Regions from separate parts of the Homo sapiens genome. Here region 1 is linked to region 2. Evidence: promoter capture Hi-C in 16 types of primary human blood cells and fetal thymus (Javierre and others, 2016). All regions are on one chromosome and are shown on one strand. The core of a region is centred on a gene start or on the middle of the fragment in contact, and the rest is flanking DNA. Distances in the headings are between cores, read along the strand shown. Region 1 overlaps RNF157 (ring finger protein 157). Region 2 holds the start of SRP68 (signal recognition particle 68).

Region 1 (7,281 bases), core at 2,847-5,346, 130 kb after region 2:
CTTGAAGATGGGAGGAACCTGCTCCTCCACCCTTCATGATTACACAGAGGTCTCAAATGAGGCGAGTAACTTAAAAGACAATGCTCACCCTACAGAGGACCTGCCCCCACCTTCCTTTCTGGCCACCCAACCATAATTAGGGCCATTATCTGAGTATTACTCAACCGGGGCCTGCTGGACCTGCAAAGAGAGGAGAGGGCTTATCATGCCAGAGGTGCTTGGGACCTGGCCAACAAAGGCACTAGCAGGACCTGGAGGATGTGTGGGAGGGGTTCCTGAGGGTGTTGGAATACAAAGTTGGATGAGGGAGAGCCTGTTGATACAGGGACATTCTCTTATGACACAGAATGAACACCTTGGCAAGAGCCTTGGATCTGATATGTGCTGGGGGAGGGGGGTTCTTGGGAGCTTGGAAAAATGATGGACCACAGTAATTGATTCCAAAACTGCCACAGAGATCTTTAGAGGAAAAGTTCAAAAGGCTTCGTGTCTACTCCACGAGAATAGGTCTGCACATAAAGTGGGAAAATCCACTAGCTGGCTGCGTCCTTTGGGGGGCCTGAACATACTCTAATTACCACACCCTAGATTCTGCCCCACACTGGTTACCAGCATAGGTTCTGCCGTATACGTCAGTGTCCTCTTCATTCCTTCTGCAGCCTGAGGTCAAACCTCCATCAAATCTCAGTTGGACAACTGGTTACCCTGTATCCGTTCTCATGACTCTCTAATCTACCTTCTACACTTCATCTGAGAGATCTTTTAAAATGTGTCTTCTGTGAGCCCCAGTTTAAAGCCCATTAGTGGTTCCCCACACCTACAGGACAAAAATTCGAAGCTCACAGGGAGGCATACCAGGCCCCTTGGTCCAGGCCTGGCATCTCAGTCTTATCTCTTGCAAAGTCTCCTCCCACCCTCTGGATGCCACACCTGCTTATGCTGAATCACCTGCAGTGCACACACCGTCTGTTGGTGAGATGTCTCTGTGCCTCTGCTCATGGGCCCTCCTCCGACGTGTTCATGTTTCCTAGCTGTACAACTCCTTCAGGCAGGGACTGCATTTCATCGGTATTTCTAGTGTCTAACATCAGCCTGGAGAACAATGGGTATTCCACAGAATGTAAATGATTGAGGGAATAATGAAGGAGTGAGCCAGTTAGTCAGTGATTTGTGTAACAGAGAGGGGAAAGAAGATCAAAGTTGGCAACATGTTATGATCATTTAAGAAAACTATCTTCTCAACTAGTACAGAGACCAGATTAAAACATGAACAAAGAAGAAACTATTCCTTCCTCTACTTTCTCTTCCTCCTTCTCCCAGTGTACTTATATTCCAAATTGGTTTTGGCTGGAGTGCAGTGGCTTGATCACAGCTCACTGTGGCCTCAACCTCACAGGCTCAAGTGATCCTTCCACCTCAGCCTCTTGAGTAGCTGGGACTATAGGCACGCTCCATCATACACAGCTAATTTCCTTTATTTTTTGTAGAGGGTCTCACTATGTTGCCCAGGCTGGTCTTGAACTCCTGGGCTCAAGTGATCCTCCCACTTTGGCCTCCCAAAGTGCTGGGTTTATAGATGTGAGCCACTGTGCCCTGCCAAAAGCAGCTGAAAGTTAAAAAAAAAAAAAAAAAAAAAAGAACAGCTGGCAGGAAGAGCCACATCAATACTAATAGGTATAAACACTGATTCAACTTCTCTGGGAGTGCCCCTTCTTATCACTGGTGATCTCAACGTGAAGTGTGACTGCACTTGGTGACGCAGCTCGCTGGTCTCCATCCTACTGCCACCTGCTCATGCTACTGGGACCCCGTCTCTCTGAAGATCCACCTACCATAGAAATCCAACTCCATAAAACAGAGGGATAATGTCCTCATCTTTATTAAGGATGAAAAGTAATATAAGTTGAATAAAGTGCTTTTTGTAAGAACATAAAAACAAGTTAAATTTCAAAACTGAACCTACAACAAGCCTACATAATTTCATAAAACTAGGCATTTCAGGTCGGGCGCGGTGGCTCACGCCTGTAATCCCAGCACTTTGGGAGGCCGAGGCGGGCGGATCACGAGGTCAGGAGATCGAGACCATCCTGGCTAACATAGTGAAACCCCGTCTCTATTAAAAATACAAAAAAAAAAATTAGCCGGGTGTGGTGGCGGGCGCCTGTAGTCCCAGCCACTCCGGAGGCTGAGGCAGGAGAATGCTGTGAACCTGGGAAGCGGAGCTTGCAGTGAGCCAAGATCGCGCCACTCCATGCCAGCCTGGGCGACAGAGCGGGACTCCGTCTTGTCAAAAAAAAAAACAAAAACAAAAACCAAAAAAAACCGAGGCATTTCTTCCCTAGCCCAATAGCCAAAAGGCAGGAGCAACCCAAGTGTCTGTCTATTGATGGATGAATGGATATACAGTGTATCGATATAATGGCATATTATTCAGCCTTAAAAAGGAAATTCTGACACATGCTACAACATGGATGAACCAAGCACATGCCAAGTGAAATAAGCCAGTCACAAAAGAACAAATATTCTATGATTCAACTCGTATGAGGTACCTAGAGTAGTCAAACTCATAGAGGCAGAAAACAGAATGGTGGAGGCCAGAGGCTGGTAGGAGAGGGAAATGGTGAGTCAGTGTCCAGTGGGGACAGAGTTTCAGTTTTGTGAGATGAAAGGAGTTCTGGAGACTGTACAACGATGTGTGATGAGCAGGGTGGTCACCCCTGGGGAAGGCGTGGAAGTAGGGAGACATGTATTATAAGAATGCCTTAAGTGAAACTCTTTAAAGCCCTAAACCATTTTAAAAGTATGAATATTCATCCTCTAGTTCTTTTACTGTCAGGTTGCTGAAAAGCAGGCCACTTCCATACTGAATCTCATACCATTTCGAATCAACTGTTTCTAAAGGTGAATTACTGCATGTTGGCACCAAGAGGACCGAGCTCCCTGACTCTCCTCCTCCCCATGCTTACTCTGGTTTTCTGTCTTTCTCCGCAAGCCCCCAGACACTTCCTGGCACACATCCCAACCCCAGCGAGCAGACCCTACCTTTCCTGTAGTTCACTAAAAAATTAAAACCATTATTTTGTGAACTCCCTTAATTTTCCTACTTCTAAATATTCTTCTAAACCTATTTCCTTCCTCTACTTAGAAGTATTTCCACCTCTATTTTTAAAGAAAATTAAAATACTTTTCATTTAAAAATGAAAACACGTTCACTGGAAAAAATTCAAACAACATAGAAGAATATGAAGAGCCGGGCACAGTGGCTCACACCTGTAATCCCAGCACTTTGGGAGGCTGAGGCAGGAGGATTGTTTGAGCCCAAGAGTTCAAGACCAGCCTTGGCAACATAGTGAGACCCTAGTCTCTACAAAAAAAAAAAAAAAAAGAGAAAAAGAAAAAATTTTAAATTAGCTGTGCATGGTGTCATGTATCTGTAGTCCCAGCTACCAGGAAGGCTGAGGCAGGAGGACTGCTTGAGCCCAGGAGTTCCAGGTTACAGTGAGCTATGATTGCACCACTGCACTCCAGCTTGGGTGACAGAACAAGCTTATTTCTAAAAAAAAAATAAAGAAAATTTTAGAAAATATGAATTAAGAAGTGAATACCCCCCTTCTTGATATATCCCAAGAGTTACCATTGTTAACAGTTCAAAATGCATTGTAATAGTATATTTGTGTAGCTATAAATATATGTACATAATGCACACACATACATATATTATTTTTATCCGAAATGAAATCAGACTCTACATTATACACTGCAACTTGCTTTATTCAGTAAGTCATGTGGTTGTGGACATATTGCCATCTCAGTGGACGCAGATCTATCTAATTTTTGCTGAATAACAGTTCATGGCATAGGCACATTATAATTTATTTAACCATTCCACTATAATGGCCATTAGATATTTTCTAATTTTGCACTACTACAAGTAATGCTACAATATACATTGTAAATAGGAATCATTTCACACTCTTCAAAATATTTCTGTAGGAGAGATTCGGAGAGGTGAAACAGTTGGGCCAAAGGGTACGCACAGCTCAAAATTTAATCAATATTTCCAGGCTAAAGGACAAAAAAAAATTGTAGTAAAATTATAAAGGAAGGAAGAAGGAAAGAAGATAGCATGCAAAAGGCAAATAACCCAATCTCAGTTTCTCTCTCTCTCTCTCTCACACACACACACACACACACACACACACACACACACACACACGTGCATGAGAAAGACACCCGTTCCCACCATGGGCTTTAGGCCTGTAGGGCAGTTAAGTGCCAGGTCCTTGTGATGTGACCTATTAGGCCAGTTACTCCAAGTCCAAGGCACAAATAAATCTCCAAACATAACACGTGCACAGCATCTGGGGTAAGTGGTGGCCTCTCACAGAGGCTGTTCCTTGGAGTGTCCTTTGCCTCAACTCACACTGCTGCAATTCTCTAATCTGCACTGCATTCATTTTATTTTCTGTTTTTTAGACACATTTTAGTCTGATCACACATGGTCCAAGAACACACAAGTCATAAATCAAATGTAATCAGATGTTAAAGATGGGTCTTCAAAGATTACAGCAATGATGCCACACTTGCCTGTGAGCTCTCTGACATAAAATCACGTCCACACCTCATGTGTGGACCACATCATTCAGCAAAGCTTCCTTAACTGTGAGCTATTAGAGCGCTACTATTTTTTTTTTCAGGCTCTGAATAGTTCTAGGGATCTCACCAGGGGTTGGAGGAAGCAGCTCAGCCTTGGCATAGTACCAAAAAGTGGCCAATCGAGGCTTCAAACAAGTCACAACAATGATCATCAGCCCTGGGGCCTTCTCTGCAAGGTTATAAATTGGTCCATGGTTCTAGGGTAGAAAGTCTGCACCATGTTTATTTGCAATGCTGTTAATCCTATTCAGTTATTTCATGTATTTTTTCTTAAAATAAATTACTTCCTAACTGGTCTTCTTATTTTCTGTCTCTCTGATTCATTACCTATACTGTGAATTAATTTATAGAATTAATTTTCTAAAATGCAAATTAGATTGTAATAGTTATCTTTTTTTTTGAGAGAGGGTCTCGTCCAGCCCAGGCTGGAGTGCAGTGGCATGATCTCCGCTCGCTGCAACCTCCGCCTTCTGGGTTCAAGCGATTCTTATGCCTCAGCCTCCCAAGCGGCTGGGATTACAGGCATGCACCACCATGCCTGGCTAATTTTTGTATTTTTAGTAGAGACAGGGTTTCGCCATGTTGGCCAGGCTGGTCTCAAACTCCTGGCCTCAAGCAATCCACCCACCTCAGTCTCCCAAAATGCTGCGACTACAGGCGTCAGCCATCAGGTCCCGCCATCATTTTTTGAGTCCTTAAAATATTCCTGCAAGGTAATTTTATAGATGGGGAAATTGAGACTCACTGATTGGCCATCGTCTTAACCAACATGACAAAGTCAGTCAGTGGCAAAGCCATTCATGACTATGACCTTTACTGCCATAGAAGGAAAAGTAAAAACTTTTTTTTTTTTTTTTTGAGATGGAGTCTTGCTCTTGTCACCCAGGCTGGAGTGCAATGGCGCAATCTCAGCTCGCTGCAACCTCTGCCTCCTGGGTTTAAGCAATTCTCCTGCCTCAGCTTCCTGAGTAGTTGGGATTACGGGAACCCGCCATCATGCCTGGCTAATTTTTGTATTTTTGTAGAGACGGGGTTTCACCACGCTGGCCAGGCTGGTCTTAAACTCCTGACCTAAGGTGACCTCCCCGCCTCAGCCTCCCAAAGTGCTGGGATTACAAGCATGACCCACCACGCCTGGCCTGTAAAAAGTTTTGTTGCTTTTTTTTTTTTTTTTGGGACGGAGTCTCGCTCTGTCGCCCAGGCTGGAGTGCAGTGGCACGATCTCGGCTCACTGCAAACTCCGCCACCCGGGTTCACGCCATTCTCCTGCCTCAGCCTCCTGAGTAGCTGGGACTACAGGCGCCCGCCACCATGCTCGGCTAATTTTTTGTATTTTTAGTAGAGACGGGGTTTCACTGTGTTAGCCAGGATGGTCTCGATCTCCTGACCTCGTGATCTGCCCTCCTCAGCCTCCCAAAGTGCTGGGATTACAGGCGTGAGCCACCGCGCCCAGCCCATAAAAACTTCTTAATACAATATTCATAGCTCTTCAGATATGAACCCAATTTGTCTTTCCAGCCTCAACTCCAACCAGCATCCCTCACAGTCCAATACTTATTGACTACTCACCACTCTGAGCGCCAAAAGCACACTTCTGCATCTTTATGCTTCCTTGTATTGCTTATTAATTAATTCTGCCTCAGATGCCTCTCCTCATCTCCCCTACCTAGGAAATCCTACTTATCCCTCCAGGTTAAAGGAGTCCCCTCCCAGAAGCCCCTTCCCTGGAGAGAGGGCATCCCCACTGGTCTGTGCTCCAGGGCACTCTGGTCCTCTCTCGTAGAACCTATCACAGTCCCTCGCAGTGGGGGCACATCAGCTGCCCCACTCTGCAGCAAGCATCTTCAGGTCAAGGGTCATGTCTTTTCATCTCTGCATTCCTAGTTCCCAGCACAGTATGTGACTCATAAATACTTGTTGAATGAATGAATAGCACCGGGACTAACAGAATCATGTTCTCTTTTTTTGCCACAAAGCTCTATAAGTGCAAAACTCTATGTTACAAATGGATATACTACCAAGTTCCTTTAAATAACTTGCTCTTCCTGACACATATGATAATAGGGTTCAATTTACAGAAACTGGATTTGAGTACAACTTTTGGTCTATCTGTACTAGAGAAAGAAGAAAAGTACACTGTATGCATCTTATTTCTTTTCTTTCTTTCTTTCTTTTTTTTTTTTTTGAGACTGAGTCTCACTCTCACTCTATCACCCAGGCTGGAGTACAGTGGTGCGATCTCGGCTCACTGAAACCTGTGCATCCTGGGTTCAAGCGATTCTCCTGCCTCAGCCTCCTGAGTAGCTGGGATTACAAGCACCTGCCACCACGCCCAGCTAATTTTTGTATTTTTAGTAGAGGCAGGGTTTCACCATGTTGGCCAGGCTGGTCTTGATCTCTCCCGACCTCAAGTGATCCACCTGCCTCGGTGTCCCAAAGTGCTGGGATTAGAGGCGTGAGCCACCATGCCCAGTCTCCTTCCTTCCTCCCTCCCTCGTTCCCTCCCTTCCTCTTTTCTTTTCTTTTTTTCTTTCTTTTTTTTTTTTTGACAGGGTCATGCTCTGTAGCCCAGGCTAGAGTGCAGTAGCATAATCATGGCTCACTGCAGCTTTGACCTCCTGGGCT
Region 2 (6,932 bases), core at 3,598-6,097:
ACCCAGGCTGGTCTCGAAATCCTTGGACTCCAGCAATCCGCCCACCCCAGCCTTCCAAAGTGCTGGGATTACAGGCATGAGCCACCATACCCGGCCCTAAACATTTATTGAACAACTAAAACATGGAGGGCAATATGATTGGTATTATAGGAAACACAAAGAGATGGAGGACACAGTGCCCATGTTCAAGGAACCCACATTAAAATTGAGTAGAATCATGCAGAGAAAATGGCAACCAAGAAAACAAGGCAAATGTCAAGTTGAAAGGACATGGGTAATCATTCTCTTGTTAGCACCTTCAGCTGCAGTGGACTGATGGCGGGGCCTAGAAAGAATGAGGGGCTGGGTGCAGTGGCTCACACCTGTAATCCCAGCACTTTGGGAGGCCGAGGTGGGCGGATCACTTGATGTCAAGAGTTCGAGACCAGCCTGCCCAACATGCAGAAACCCCGTCTCTACTAAAAATACAAAATTAGCCAGTTGTGGTGGCACATGCCTGTAATCCCAGCCTACTCGGGAGGATGAGGCAGGACATTCGCTTAAACTCAGGAGGTGGGGGTTGCGTTGAGCCAAGATTGCGCCATTGCACTTCAGCCTGGGCAACAACAGTAAAACTCCGTCTCGAAAAAAAAAAAAATTAGCCAGGCATGGCGGGCGGGCGCCTATAATTCTAGCTACTCGGGAGGCTGAGGCAGAGAACTGCTTAAACCCGGGAGGTGGAGGTTGCAGTGAGCCGAGAACACGCCATTGCACTCCAGCCTAGGCAACAGAGCAAGACTGTGTCTGAAAAAAAAAAAAAAAAAGAAGAAGAAGAAGAATGAGGAGGATTCTAATAAATGTAAAGAAAGCAGGGAAAGGGGCATCCTGAGGAAGACTAAGATGACACCAAACATATGGAGAAAGAACTGCAGGCAGGTCTGAAGAAAAGTGAGGAAGCCAATTAGGTTATCGCCAAGAAGCACTACAAATGTCACCTCTATGCCAAGCCTCCTCCTCTATGCTCATGTAGCTCTTTATTCTTCCTTCTATTACAGTGTGTGACATTATAATTATGTTCTCACATAGTTGTCCACTAATATAAATCCCTTTAGTGCAGGGAGAATTATTTTTTTGAGACAGAGTCTCACTATGTTGCTGTTGCCCAGGCTGGGCTCGAACTCCGGGGCTTAAGCAATTCTCGGGCCTCATCCTCCCAAGTAACTGGCACTATGGCATGTGCCACCATTCCAGCTAGGATTTCATTTTTAAATTTTCCACAATGCCTTACCACAGTGTCTAATATGCAGATGTTCAATACATACATTTTGACTAAATTAGTTTAAAATATATATATAAATAAATAAATATATATATATATAAAATTGCACCAACCTTTAAGTCAAAGTAATACAGCACATAATTTACAATACAAAATGATATTTCAATACTACTTCAGGGGCCGGGCGTGGTGGTTCACGCCTGTAATCCTAGCACTTTGGGAGGCTGAGGCAGGCAGATCACTTGAGGTCAGGAGTTCGAGACCAGCCTGGGCAACATGGTGAAACCCCATCTCTACTAAAAATACAAAAATTAGCCAGGCATGGTGGTGCATGCCTGTAGTCCCAGGTACTCGGGAGGCTGAGGCAGGAGAACTGCTTGAACCCGGAAGGCGGAGGTTGCAGTACACCGAGATCGTGCCACTGCATTCCAGACTGGGTGACAGACAAAGACTCTGTCTCAAAAAAATAAGTAAATAAATAAAATGAAATAAAAATAAATAAATAGGCCAGGCACATTGGCTCACACCCGTAATCCCAGTACTTTGGGAGGCTGAGGCAGGTGGATCACCTGAGGTCAGGAGTTCAAGACCAGCCTGGCCAACATGGTGAAATCTTGTCTCTACTAAAAATTAGCCGGGCATGGTGGCATGTGCCTTCAGTCCCAGCCACTCAGGAGGCTGAGGCAGAAGAATCACTTGAACCCGGGAGGCGGAGGTTGCAGTGAGCCGAGATCGCGCCACTATACTCCAGCCTGGGCAACAGAGTGAGACTCCGTATCAAAAATAAATAAAATAAATACTACTTCAGCATCTCAATCAAAGCTACCAGGGTATAGATTATTTAAAAGAAAAAAAAAAAAAGAAATAGGCCAGACACGGTGGCTCACGCCTGTAATTCCAACACTTTGGGAAGCTGAGGTGGGTGGATCACCTGAGGTCAGGAGTTTGAGACCAGCCTGGCCAACATGGCGAAACCCCATCTCTACTAAAAATACAAAAATTAGCCAGGCATGGTGGCACATGCCTATAATCCCAGGTACTCTGGAGGCAGAAGCAGGAGAATCACCTGAACCCGGGAGGCATGGGCTGCAGTGAGCCAGGATTGCGCCACTACACTCCAGCCTGGGTGACAGAGTGAGACTCCATCTCAAAAAACAAACAAACAAACAAACAAAAAAAACAGCTACTCAGGAGGCTGAGGCAGGAGAATCGCTGGAACCCAGGAGGTGGAGGTTGCAGTGAGCCAACATTGCGCCACTGCACTCCAGCCTGGCGACAGAGCGAGACTCCATCTCAAAAAAAAAAAAAAAAACAAAGCAAACAAACAAACAAAAAAAACAATGCTCTAGACTTTCTAGCATATTTGCTGATATAGCAGAGTAAACAGGATATTAACAAAAGCAAAGCAAGTCCCACAATGATTTCCAAACATCTTGTATGTGATACTAACCTGTACCTCTGAAAATCTCCATGCCGTAAACCATGCTGCTGCTGGGATTCCTTAATAATCTGAAGAACTAGAGTCGAGATTAAGGAAAATCTTACCATAGCAAGAATCCAAACAAATCAAAACCTGTACCATCAGTCTATATCTGTGTCAAACCACAACACATTAAACATTTGTGAAATATAGCCAGGTACGGTGGCTCATGCCTGTAATCCCAGCACTGTGGGAGGCCGAGGCGGGTGTATCACCTGAGGTCAGGAGTTCAAGACCAGCCTGGCCAGCATGGTGAAACCCCGTCTCTACTAAAAACACAAAAAATTAGCCGGGCGCAATGGCTAGCACCTGTAATCCCAGCTACTCGGGAGGCTGAGGCAGGAGAATCGCTTGAACTTGGAAGGCAGAGGTTGCAATGAGCCAAGACAGCGCCACTGCACTCCAGCCTAGGTGAGAGTGAGATTCAGTCACACATGCACATGCACACACACACACACACACACACACACACAAATTTGTGAAATATTTAGTACACTGGTGAGATCTTTTGTAACCATTTTCAATATCTATCTTGTCACAGGACAGGGCTAACCTACAGGAAAACTGATTGCCTGAACTGTTACTACTTGCAAACTGAAAAAGGAGGGCACTACTGGCCACTGGAAACTGCCAAAACCCAGTTTAAATTAAGCTGATGGATTCTAAATGCTGACTATAATTGGGGTGCTTCACACCAATTAACACCTAGACCCCACATTTTATTCATTCAGATTCAGGTTATAAATGACATGTACTAAGCCTCCATTTGCATAATCTCCAACACCTGCCAAATCTAACTTTCCTTAACAGCTGTGATGCTTAGAGAGTCTATGATTAGCACATGTCAACCAAGCTAGGCTACAGTTTGCATAAAAGTATTAAGGTTTTTCTTTCAAAAGAAGAATGGCCAGATTCTCCTTTTAATAATCTTAAAATATTTAAGATTATGTACTAATCTTTAGAAAGTCCAATGACCTTCATCTATATAGGTATAGTTTTAATGTTTCCTCAACACTTCTCTAGAGACATATTTTAAAATAGTGAACGCTAAAAGGACTCTTTAAATTACTAAAACGGGACAAAGAGATATAAAGGTCTCAGTAAAATCAGGGCTCGCTAGCGTCTACTTGGAACTATTACCAGTAATTCAAAATATTTAACTCCAAGCGCCTGAGAACTTTAAGCACATTAAGATGTCAAGTTGAATGTGTTATTTCAGAAACTCGCCTACGTTTTCTCCATTTGTTATTCATTTCAAAAGGTCACAAACTAGTACCACAAGCACTTGGTTGAGATACACACTGATGGAAACTAGAAACCGATTCCTCCAGCTTATATGAATGACTGTCAGCAAGATAAAATGCCTACAGACCGATCAGAAAAAAATGACACAATCGATATTAACTACGGTAACTTACAATCAAAATGGGCAACAAGCTTTTCCTGAGTCAATCTTTACCTCCACTTTCAAAGTATCGAGCTGTAGGTTTTACTACTCAGTCTATGACGACTGTCAGACAAGAGTATTAAGCCAAATGTCAAGACTGCAGTTTCCTCTCCCCAGTTCAGTGGCTCAAGGTGCCAAAGCAAGGTGCTCAAGGTGTCACTTGGTCACAAGCCCTCCAACTGGACAACTGCGGGGCACCAGGGGAAACCTGCCTGATATCCCAGTGCCACTGGAAGAAACGGACCTAGCCAGGACGGCGAGGGGGACACGAGGAAAGACTAGTCGAGAGACAGACCCCCCCCGGAATTCTGAGCACCAAAAGGTAAGGGCGAGAGAAACTGCAACCCTCGGCCTCTCCTGCCAGGACTTGTCGGGACCCGCCGCCTCTCCCGCCCCCAGCCCTCCAGTTCGACACGTAATCATTGCGAGTTAGGCCCGATTACTCTAGGATACTCTCCAAACTCAGGCTATCCCCAAATTCTTTGTTTGCCTTCGATCCGGCCGAAGGGCGTTCGTTTTCTTTATTTTCTTCCCCTCCGGCACCACGTCCACCGCCGCTACCGCCGCCGCCACTGCCACCGCCGCCGCCACTGCCGCCGCCGCCGCCGCCGCCTGGGACCTGCTTCTCAGCAGCCATCTTGCCCCTGCGCCGCAGAGCAAGACGGGATAGGGGAGGCGGGACGACCTGGGCGGGTGAGAGCTGGACCTGCCTGGCCGGGCTGATGGGATAGCGGCGGACTCCGCCGCCGTCGGCCCTTGCTGCAGCAGGGCGCCATGTGCTGGAGCGCGCCTGCGCGAGGGATCCTGTCATCCCGGGTCCGGAATTGTGGCTGGCTAGGTGGGGACTTGAGGCCGCAGTGAGACCGTGGCTGCTGAGATCTCAGGGGGCAGTCCCACCTCCCACCCACTAAGGGCGGAGAACCGGAGGTGGACCCCAGGTCCTGCATCCTGGACTGGGGATCTGGTTCACGTCCTGCCCAGCAGAAAGCAGGAGACCAAAGATACTGGATTTCGGGGTGTCTGCATCCCCAGGGACTCAAGAGATGGGGTCCTCCCTACCGGAACGGGACACCCCGTCCGTAAGGGACCCGCCTCTGCCTGCCCTTTCCTCTGAGGCTGGCCGTAAGAACGCCAAGCCGGAGGAAGCGCTGCGCAGTCAGCAGACGGTGTCCTAACGGGGTGACTTTCTCAGACCGCTTGGGGCCGTGGACCACTGCACTTTGGGGCCGTCAGTCCAAAGAGGGAGAAGTGTTGAGACATGGGAAAATATGAATTTTTGCTTTGCACCTTCTAGAGTCTGAGACCTGGGATTCCAATCCCCGCTCCGTCATTAGCGGCAGGGACATGTTGGGCACGTAACTTAATCTCCCTGTAAATCTGTTCCTTCATCTATGAAATGGGGATAACCAATTTAAGTGGTTGTTAGGAAGATTAAATGACGGATTTTTTTTTTTTTTTTAGATAGAGTTTCGCTCTTGTTGCCCAGGCTGGAGTGCAATGGTGTGATCTCGGCTCACTGCAACCTCTGCCTCCTGGGTTCAAGCCATTCTCCTGCCTCAGCCTCCCGAGTAGCTGGGATTACAGGCGCCTGCCACCACGTCCCGCTAATTTTTGTATTTTTAGTGGAGACGGGGTTTCACCATGTTGGTCAGGATGGTCTCGATCTCCTGACCTCGTGATCCGCCCGCCTCGGCCTCCCAAAGTGCTGGGATTACAGGCGTGAACCACCGCGCCCGGCCCTGAACTCTATTTTGAATTTCCTCAAGGTATACGGAATAAGGTCAGGAGAAAAAGAATAAGGATCTGATGCATTCAGATTTAACTAACTCTCCCATACATCTCATTCCTTTCTCAGCAGATCCCTCTTAGAAGGAAGTGTTACCATTTCCTTGTTACAGCTGAGGAAACTGAGGCATGGAGCCAAAGACAGAGCCTGACACAATAGATGCTCAGTATATTGGATTGAATTGGAGGGAAAACGTTCAATGGGTAAGAGAAGGGAAAAAGGTGGCCGGGCTCGGTGGCTTACGCCTGTAATCCCAGCACTTTGGGAGGCCGAGGTGGGCGGATCACTTGAGGTCAGGAGTTTGAGACCAGCTTGGCCAACATGGTGAAACCCCATTTCTACTAAAAATACGAAAATAAGCCAGGCGTGGTGGCAGGCGCCCGTCATCCCAGCTACTCGGGAGGCTGAGGCAGGAGGATCGCTTGAACCCGGGAGGCGGAGGTTGCAGTGAGCCGATATCATGCCACTACACTCCAGCCTGGGCGACAGAGTGAGACTCTGTCTCAACAAATACAAATACAAAAAACTAGCCAGACGTTGTGGCGGACGCCTGTAGTCCCAGCCCCTCAGAAGGCCGAGGCAGGAGAACCGTTTGAACCCGGGAGACGGAGGTTGCAGTGAGCCGAGATCGCGCCACTGCACTCTAGCCTGGGCGAAAGAGCCAGACTCCGGGGCCCCTCATCCGCCTCCGCCCCGCGTTTCCTCCCCCCGATCTCCCAGGGGTCCTCTTTTGAGGGCACCCCAGCCCCTCGACGGTCCCGGGATATCCTGCACCCCTGCCAGGCTGCAGGGAAGCGCCGAGGCGCGCGGAGTGCGAGGTCCGTGCTCCCTGCGGCGCGGCGCACACGCAGGGTCCGGGGTCGACCCCTCCACCGCTCCGGCGTCTGCCGGGGAAGTCAGTCCGCCTGGTCAGCCCAGAACCCCCGACTGCGGGGGCTGGAGCTCGGAAGCAGGTACAAGC

The links. The method cuts DNA at HindIII sites, captures the fragments that hold promoters and counts their contacts. A CHiCAGO score of 5 or more calls a contact.
Region 1: a contact is called between a fragment that was not itself captured here and the fragment with the promoter of SRP68 in region 2, in 1 of 17 cell types (endothelial precursors). The highest score is 5.0, in endothelial precursors.

The regions. Positions count from the first base shown.
Region 1 is chr17:76,197,956-76,205,236 of GRCh38, forward strand. All of the region lies in intron 2 of RNF157 (ring finger protein 157), which reads right to left. It also overlaps the pseudogene ATP5MGP6. Among named protein-coding and RNA genes, the nearest start is that of RNF157, 39 kb to the right of the region's middle. The HindIII fragment of the contact is 1,105 bases long and covers 3,545-4,649 here.
Region 2 is chr17:76,067,670-76,074,601 of GRCh38, forward strand. It overlaps SRP68 (signal recognition particle 68), which reads right to left and starts at 4,848. Exons shown (of 16, transcript NM_014230.4): 1 at 4,639-4,848; 2 at 2,709-2,775. The coding sequence starts at 4,822. It also overlaps a transcript of GALR2 not described here. RefSeq lists enhancers at 4,135-4,962, 4,961-5,010, 4,963-5,790. The HindIII fragment of the contact is 7,541 bases long and covers 4,174-6,932 here.